Linked DNA regions of Homo sapiens: all the other regions are linked to region 3. The links are contacts of gene promoters, found by promoter capture Hi-C in blood cells and fetal thymus (Javierre and others, 2016). All regions are on one chromosome and are shown on one strand. The core of a region is centred on a gene start or on the middle of the fragment in contact, and the rest is flanking DNA. Distances in the headings are between cores, read along the strand shown. Region 1 overlaps SND1 (staphylococcal nuclease and tudor domain containing 1). Region 2 has its middle 21 kb from the start of MIR129-1. Region 3 holds the start of LRRC4 (leucine rich repeat containing 4).

Region 1 (2,911 bases), core at 299-2,798, 160 kb after region 3:
ACTCTTCCCTGGCTTCCCTACTAAAAAATTTCCCCCTCGTAACCCTGGAATACCTCCCTCAACTCTTTCATAGCTTTAGTTTTCTCTATAGCACTTTTCATCACCTATATATCTTTACTGCTTCTTTATCTGATTGCCCCCATTGGAACGAAAGTGCCGCACAAAATAGATCTCTCTATCATATGCACTGATCTATCCCCAGTGCAAAGAACTGGCGCCTGGCAACGTCATGTACTCAACTCAGTAAATAAGCTGTTGACTAGAGATGGAGGAAAAAAAATACCCACAAACTAAAGTTAAAAAAAATAAAACAACCATATAATGTTCATGTGGCCTAAGAAAACAGGTGCAATTTGGAGATTACATGCAAATGAGGTTGAGTTTTACTTACATTTGGAAACATGAGATTTTAAATTCCAAGTCTGGCTTTAGTAAGATGAAACTTGAGAAAGACATTTACCTTTTAAGTCATATTTTCTGTTCTATCATACCAAGCGGACTAACTTGACCTGAAGGACCTCTAGGGTGGTAGACAAAGCTAATGCTCTAAATGATGCCACAGAAGGCATCATCTGTGTTTCGGACCTTAGCCAAGCCTAGAAATAAAGACATACCCCATGGGGAGCCATGGAAAGGACACGAGCATTTGTTAAGTCAAATACCCTCTATAAGGCAGAAAAGATATTACATACTGGGAATAAAATAGTTATTTGTCACCTAGTGCTGTGTGTGCTATGAGTCTTTTTGTTGTTGTTGGCAGTGTCTGGTTCTGTCACCCAGGCTGGAGTGCAGTGGTGCAATCACAGTTACCTGCAACCTCCACCTCCTTGGCTCAAGTGAGCCTCCCACCTCAGCCTCCTGAGTACCTGGGACTATAGGCGCATGCTGCTACACCTGGCTATTTTTTAAGTAGAGAAAGGGTTTCACCATGTTGCCCAAGCTGGACCTGAACTCTTGGGCTCAAGTGATTCACCCACCTTGGTCTCTCAAAGTGCTGGGATTACAGGCGTGAGCCACCATGCCTGACCTACTATGAGTCTTATTATAAGTAAGCACCAAGTGTTGGGGGAAGACACACACAAGATGCACAATTCAGATTTTAGACGGAGTACCTACAGCAAAACTTTCCTGAGAAATGAAGCACTGAAGAATGAGTAAGAGCTAACCAGATGAAATGTATGTTCCAGGCAGAGAGCAGATTAAGTTAAATAGTAATGCATTTAATTTTTTTTTTTTTAAAGGAATGGTGAATGAGAACCAGGGAATGTAAATATAAACATGGAGAGGTAGGGAGGGGCCAGGTCATGGCTCAGTATACTCCACTCCTAAGGTTATGGAATGATTCTAAAAATCAGATGTGTGTTTCAAAAAGAGAATTAAAGCAGTAATGTAGAAAATGGATTGGAGGGCAGTAAGACTAGAAATAGAGAGGCTAGTAAAAAGAACTGCTGAGTTATTCTACACTGACAGCATAAACCAGGCAGTGAGGAGAGCCAGGATAGGATGAACCTGATATACCAGTAGGTAATTACATACTGGGAGTTAGGAGGAGATAAAGACGACAACATGATCTCTAGACTAAAAGACTATGTAAATGGTGACACCATCAAAAGACGCGATCATTTGAGTAAAGGAACAGCAGTTGAATATAGGTGGGAAGCCTGCTAGAGACAGGGAAAGGGAAGTCAGCAGCATCACCATCAGATCACCCAGAGACTGAATAGTGGTAAGAAGAGGGACAATGACAGAAGCCTAGGAAGCACAAATATTTAAGGAGCATTCAAAGCAGACTGAGAAAAAGTTATCAGAGTTGTAGAAGGAAATCCACGAAAGTGTGGTATACTGAAAAGGTAGAAGAAAACAAGATTTTAAAAGATAAGTATTAAATACTCCAGAGAGGTCAAGTAAAAGTAAAGACTGAGAAGTGTCCTTCAGGGAAGCATTGGTGAATGATGGGGAAGGTTCAAAGCTAGAAGGGAAAGGAATGAATAGCAAACGGGACAGAATTAAAATGTCTTTTAATTATTCTAATTAACTTGGCTATGAAGAGAAGGCAAGAAGAAGAAAAGCAGATATAATAGGATAGAAGACTGAAGGACAATTAAAAATAACACTAGTTAAAAAGAGAATAGCCAATAGCACAAAATCCCAAGGAGAACAAAAGAACTGGAATCTAGAGCATGTAGGCAGAACAATTAGTTTGGAAAGAAGAAGGTGAAACTGTCTACGGAGATGGGAAGGCAGGAGGTAAGAAAGCAAGCATAACAAGGAAGGCAAACTGGAAGCTGAGAGAACAAGAAGTTAAAGGCATCTTCCTGATAACCCTATATTTACTCCATAAAGTAAGAGATGAGACTGCTGACAGTGATAGGAAGAGATATAGTTAAGTAGGGGGGCTTGGTGGACAAAAGCGGTCAAAGTCTAAAATAGCCATGGTAGTGAAATAGCACCATTAAAACAGCATTTATGGAAAATTAATCCAGGAGTATTATGCAGCAAGATTTGAAGAGGGGGAAAACCTGCAGGTACGAAATGCTTGGATCTGCCTTGTTGAGTGCATGGAGTGGAGGGATGGCAAGAGTAGAAGGAAAGAACTGATAACAGAATTCTTTAACATATAAATAACTAAATCACTACCTTCCTAATGAAATTGCTTTCTCTCAATACCCCAAGGAACACCTAGGCAGCATCAAACACCTTTAATTATTTCAGCTCCTGGTGGGAATCAAAGCTATTATTGATGGGCAGCCCCTAGCTTTTAGATTTCCCAATCCAAAATGCTATATGCTTCTTGAACCATAGCTCATAATCCAACTTAGTAACTCATTAAATATGAATGACTATGCCTACTTAAAGCACATCTGGAATATTCCCTGTACAAGTGGTGATACATTTTAATGGTTGTCCAATC
Region 2 (2,700 bases), core at 104-2,603, 160 kb before region 3:
TTTCCAGGAATTTGAAAATTGTCAACATCGGGAAATCTCTCTCTCTCTTTTTTTTTTTTTTTATTTTTGAGACGGAGTTTCACTCTTATTGCTCAGGGTGGAGTACAATGGTGCGATCTCGGCTCACCACAATCTCCGCCTCCCGGGTTCAAGCGATTCTCCTACCTCAGCCTCCCGAGTAGCTGGGATTACAGGCATGTGCCACCACACCCAGCTAACTTTTTGGGTATTTTTATTAGAGACGGGGTTTCTCCATGTTGGTCAGGCTGGTCTCAAACTCCCGACCTCAGGTGATCGGCCCGCCTTGGCCTCCCAAAGTGTTAAGATTACAGGCGTAAGCCACTGTGCCCAGCCTTGGGAAATCTCTTAATGCAATTTATCTCATGAATAGATGAAAGGAGAAAATCATACCATCATTTGATAGAAGCCCAAAGGACATTTGATAAAATCCAATACACTTTTTTAAAAAAAATATTCTTACTAAACTAGCAATAAAGAGATAATCCCAAAGCAGGATAAAGAACAAATCTAAACCAAGAGCTAACATTATACTTAAAGATAAAACTCTGACCTGTGAATGCATAAGAATTTCCTTGATGAACGCTGTCATGAAATGTTGTTTGAAAGTGAGTTCTAGTCAAAAGAAAAATAAGGCCGGGTGTGGTGGCCCTTCCTGTATCCCAGCACTTTGGGAAGCCAAGGCATGAGGATCACTTGAGTTCGGGAGTTCGAGACCAGCCTGGCCAACATGGTGAAACCCCGTCTCTACTAAAAATACAAAAATTAGCCAAGTGTGCTGGCACACACCTGTAATTCCAGCTACTCGGGAGGCTGAGGCAGGAGAATCGCTTGAACCCAGGAGGCGATGGTTGCAGTGAGCCAAGATCGGGCCACTACACTCCGGCCTGGGAGACAGATTGAGACTTTGTCTTAAAAAAGAACAAAAAAAAAGAGACTTTTTCTTTTTTTAAAAAAAATGTGATTTAATTATTATAAAGAGGGAGTCAAAAACCCGATTTACTCCACAGAAAATCTGAAGATCAAGTGAAATTTATAATTAATAAGAGAGTTCAATAAGGCAGTTATAAAATAAATGTAGATAATTTTCTTAGCTTTTGAACACAGTGGCAACAACCAACCTGAAAATAGAATGGGAAAGAGAATTTCATTCATAGTAGCAACTAAAATATAAAATATTAGGGAAGAATTTTAACAAGAAGAGTGCAAGACCCCGTACAGAAAAGCCCTTATGCTTTACTGAATAATTTGAATTAAGAGGAGGCCATACTTTGTTTCAAGATGAGGAGACTTGATATTGTAAAAATGTCAGTCTTGCCCAAATTCACCTAATGCATTTCCCATAATTGCAATCAAAATCTCAATTGAGTTTTGAGTAGAATTTGATAAAATGAATCTCACATTAATCTGGATGAATAAGTATGAGGAAATTAATAAGAAAATGTCGGGGAAAAAGACTGAATTAGAACAGGGCACACTTGTCATACCAAGTATGAAAAAGGTATATTTTAAATCTGTAGTAATTGCAGCAGTAAAATTCTGGTGTCAGAGGAAACAGACAGATCAAAGGAGCAGAATATAAAATCCAATTGGCATTTCAAGTTGGTGAGGGAAAGAAGGTGCTGTTCAAGAAAAGGTGCTGGGATAACATGAATGCTGTTTTCTCCTCATTTGAGGGAAGGAAGAGAAGAAGGGAGGAAGGGAGGAAGGGAGGAAAGGAGGAAGGGAGGAAAGGAGGAAGGAAGGCCGGAAGGGAGGGAGGAAGGAAGGAAGGGAGGAAAGGGAAGGAGGGAGGGAGAGATACCTAAGGGGGGGATACATGTATGTGTCCTTTCAAAGGTACCCTGTATCTATACAAAATTATTTATATAGAAAAAAGTAGTCATTTGTCTGCCACGTATGCTTCTAAATATCTCTTCTCAATTTATCATAATGTAAGATCTTATATATGTGGCTTTTTTCCAGTGCAGAAGTAAGTCATTTTTATATAGTTGATTTAATTTTTTTTTTGAGACAGGGTCTCGCTGTGTCACCCAGGCTAGAATGCAGTGGCTCAATCTCAGATCACTGCAACCTTGGCCTCCTGGGTTCAAGCAATTCCCCTGCCTCAGCCTCCCGAGTAGCTGGGATTACAGGCACATGCCACCACACCCAGCTAACTTTTTGGGTATTTTTAGTAGAGACGAGGTTTCACCATGTGGCCCAGGATGGTCTTGAACTCCTGGCCTCAAGCAGTCTACCAGCCTCAAGTAGTCTATCTGCCTCAGCCTCCCAGAGTGCTAGGATTACAGGCATGAGCCACCATGCCCGGCTGATTTAATTTTTGTGTGTGTTATGGCTTCATGAGTCTTTCTTTACTCCAAGACTTTGTGTGTGTGTGTGTGTGTGTGTGTGTACAGGGGTGTTGGTGTGTGTCTATGCTCCGTGTTTTCTTCTAGTGCTTTTATGACTTCAGCTTTAACTTGAATATTTTCTCCATTATTTTGATGTAAAGAGTAATGTGGGAATCATCTTTTCTCCTAATGTATCTTCCGCTGTCCCAGCCCTATATATTGCACCACCTGTCTTTTCCCCTCTGATATGAGATGCCATTTTACGACACACTAAATTCCCACATAAATTTGGGTCTATTTCTGAGCTCTTCATTCTGTTCTGTTGATCTGACCAAATATTCCTACGTAC
Region 3 (2,862 bases), core at 285-2,784:
CTCCGGGAGTTCACCTCAATCCTTCCTGCCGGCCTCTGTGCTGTCCCAGGTTGCCATTCCCCAGCTCATCACACTTGGTCATTCCTGCCACTGTTTCCCGCCCCCGCAACCCTCATTAAGGAAACCCTCATTTAAAGCCCCAGTGAGAGCACAGGAGGGGTGAGGCAAAGCGAAGGAGGGGCTGGCGGCAGTGCAGCAGCGAAGCCCGGGCTCTCGGTCCTGGGAGCCTCGTGGCCCCGGCCGCCGTCCCCCGAGTCCCCACCACGCAGTTCCGAACTCCGAACGCGAGTCCGCGCCCCGTCAGCAGTCAGCGGGGGTGAGGATGACGCGGGCCGGGCGAGAGGCAGGCCAAATGCAGCAGCCCCGCCGCGGGCCGCCGGGCCCCTGAGCCCCGCTCTTCAGAGCCAGGGGGCCCCGGGTGCGGGCCGGAGGGCGGGGGCCGGCGCGGGCTCTCCCGCCGCAGCCCCGCGCCGCTCCAGCCTATCAGCGGCCACCCAACTGCTCCCTCCGACCGGCCCAAAATAGCTGCGAACGCCTGCGACTTGCGCGCGGCCCCTCACTTGACGCTCACTCCGGCTCGCTCGCCCGCTCGCCCTGGCCCCGCTCCGCTCGTCTAGAGGGGGCGGGGAGGAAGCGGCCCGGGGAGGGGGGAGGGGGGAGGGGGAGAGAGGAAGAGAGGAGGAAGGAAGGAGGAAAGAGGAAGACGGGCGGCCGGAGGCGCGGGGCTGCGCGGCGCCGGCCGGCGCGGCGCTGGAAGGCGCCGGCGTTAACCCCGCGAGGCAGGCGACGGAGGGGGAGCGGCGCTAATACATAAGAGCACTGCATCACGCTAATCTTCTCCCAGAACAGTATGCGTCAGCAGTACATTCACGTTCTGACTGAAGGACAAAAGGATGAGAGAGCAGTCTGCGTGGCTGCCGCCTGCAACACCGCGAGCCCGGCGCGAGGAGGAGACGGTGGGCGCCGCGCGCAGGGGCCCCGCTGCTGCTGCTGCCGCCGCTAGCCAGCGGGGACTATGTTCCTGGGCTCCGGAGCGTTTCCCGCAGCCGCGACCCCCGCTGCTCACGCCGCTGCAGCAGTCCGCTGGCGGCGCGGCCACTGAGGGCGCCGGGAGCCGAAGCCGCGAACTCGCTCCCTCCGCACAAAGCCGGAGCCGGCGGCGCGCCGGGGGCCGGGCAGCGGCGGGCGGCGACGGGCGGTTGCGCGCCGCCGGGGGCTGCGGCCGCCGCCGCCGCCGGACCCGCGCCCGCCCCCGGACTCTCTGAAGGGGCCTGCGGTGCGGGCGCGACCGCGGGCGCCGCGCGCTCCTCCGGCCGGCGGACCGGGTCCGAGCGCAGCCGCCACGCCGCTGGTCCTCGGGGGCCGGACGGAGCGCCGCCCCGCGTGCCGGCAGCCGGCGGACTGGAGAACTGACCCCCCGTTTTTGTCTCTTCCACCCTCCGAGAAGAGGCGAGGAGAAAGGGGGTGTGTGTCTGGGGAGGGCGAAGGCGCCGCGAACACCTCCTCTTAACTCTCGCCGCTCCGCGAGCTCACGACCGCAATCAGCTGCCGCCGGCCCGGAGCGGCCGACGCCGGGAGAGGGAGCGCAGCATCCAGCGAGTGCGGCCTGGGCGGCTTCGGGGCGCCCCCGCACTCCCTCCGGCGGCGGCCCGCAGAGCGGGCCGGGGCCGCCGGAGCGCACTTTGGCGATGAAGCGCCTTCCCCCGCGGCTGGAGCGAGCCGGTGCCAGGGTCCAAGGACAAAGCCGGGAAGCGCTGGTGGCGCCGCTCCTTGGGCGGAGGGGGGGGCATGCACCTGCATAGCCCGCCGGGCCTTGGCTCTCCCAGGCGCGCCTCAACTCCGCGGCTTCGCCGGCTCCGGCTCCGGATTTACTAGAGGCCATTTTGTCTCCCCCACCCCTTCCCTCCCCTCCCCTCCCCTCCCCTCTGCCCTCCCCGCCCCCACCACTTCCCCCTTTTGTTAATTAAAACTAAGAAGTCGGAATGGGAACGAGGTGCCCAGCTCCCGTGGAGAAAGCTTAAGGACACCACGCCAGTGCTTTCCTGCCTTCCTTCCGAGGTAGGTGACGGCGAACTGGGTGGGGACGGTTGCAGTGTGGGAGAGTCGTAGCTTTCGGAGGGCTTGCCTTGAGGGTGGGTTGGGAGACCAGGGGCCGCTCGAGTTTGGCAGGATTTTTTTCGGCCGATCCGCTCCGTCTCTCTAATCGCCCCCTCCCCACCTCCTTCTCCAGATGGAAAGAGGAGCTCCTAGCTCACTTAAGCCGGGGTAGGGCTGGTTCTCCTTTCCGAGCCAAAATCCCAGGCGATGGTGAATTATGAACGTGCCACACCATGAAGCTCTTGTGGCAGGTAACTGTGCACCACCACACCTGGAATGCCATCCTGCTCCCGTTCGTCTACCTCACGGCGCAAGTGTGGATTCTGTGTGCAGCCATCGCTGCTGCCGCCTCAGCCGGGCCCCAGAACTGCCCCTCCGTCTGCTCGTGCAGTAACCAGTTCAGCAAGGTGGTGTGCACGCGCCGGGGCCTCTCCGAGGTCCCGCAGGGTATTCCCTCGAACACCCGGTACCTCAACCTCATGGAGAACAACATCCAGATGATCCAGGCCGACACCTTCCGCCACCTCCACCACCTGGAGGTCCTGCAGTTGGGCAGGAACTCCATCCGGCAGATTGAGGTGGGGGCCTTCAACGGCCTGGCCAGCCTCAACACCCTGGAGCTGTTCGACAACTGGCTGACAGTCATCCCTAGCGGGGCCTTTGAATACCTGTCCAAGCTGCGGGAGCTCTGGCTTCGCAACAACCCCATCGAAAGCATCCCCTCTTACGCCTTCAACCGGGTGCCCTCCCTCATGCGCCTGGACT

Evidence for each region. Contacts are between HindIII fragments. The CHiCAGO score rates a contact against its expected background, and 5 or more counts as called.
Region 1: a fragment that was not itself captured here is called in contact with the fragment with the promoter of LRRC4 in region 3 in 1 of 17 cell types (neutrophils); the score reaches 8.6 in neutrophils.
Region 2: a fragment that was not itself captured here is called in contact with the fragment with the promoter of LRRC4 in region 3 in 1 of 17 cell types (M2 macrophages); the score reaches 6.8 in M2 macrophages.

The regions. Positions count from the first base shown.
Region 1 is chr7:127,866,227-127,869,137 of GRCh38, reverse strand. The region is part of intron 12 of SND1 (staphylococcal nuclease and tudor domain containing 1); the gene reads right to left. Among named protein-coding and RNA genes, the nearest start is that of SND1-IT1, 130 kb to the left of the region's middle. The HindIII fragment of the contact is 5,508 bases long and covers 1-2,911 here.
Region 2 is chr7:128,185,467-128,188,166 of GRCh38, reverse strand. No RefSeq gene overlaps it. Among named protein-coding and RNA genes, the nearest start is that of MIR129-1, 21 kb to the left of the region's middle. The HindIII fragment of the contact is 2,948 bases long and covers 1-2,700 here.
Region 3 is chr7:128,030,109-128,032,970 of GRCh38, reverse strand. It overlaps LRRC4 (leucine rich repeat containing 4), which reads left to right and starts at 1,534. Exons shown (of 2, transcript NM_022143.5): 1 at 1,534-2,058; 2 at 2,231-2,862. The coding sequence starts at 2,331. All of the region lies in intron 16 of SND1 (staphylococcal nuclease and tudor domain containing 1), which reads right to left. RefSeq lists silencers at 251-320, 971-1,090. The HindIII fragment of the contact is 11,709 bases long and covers 1-2,018 here.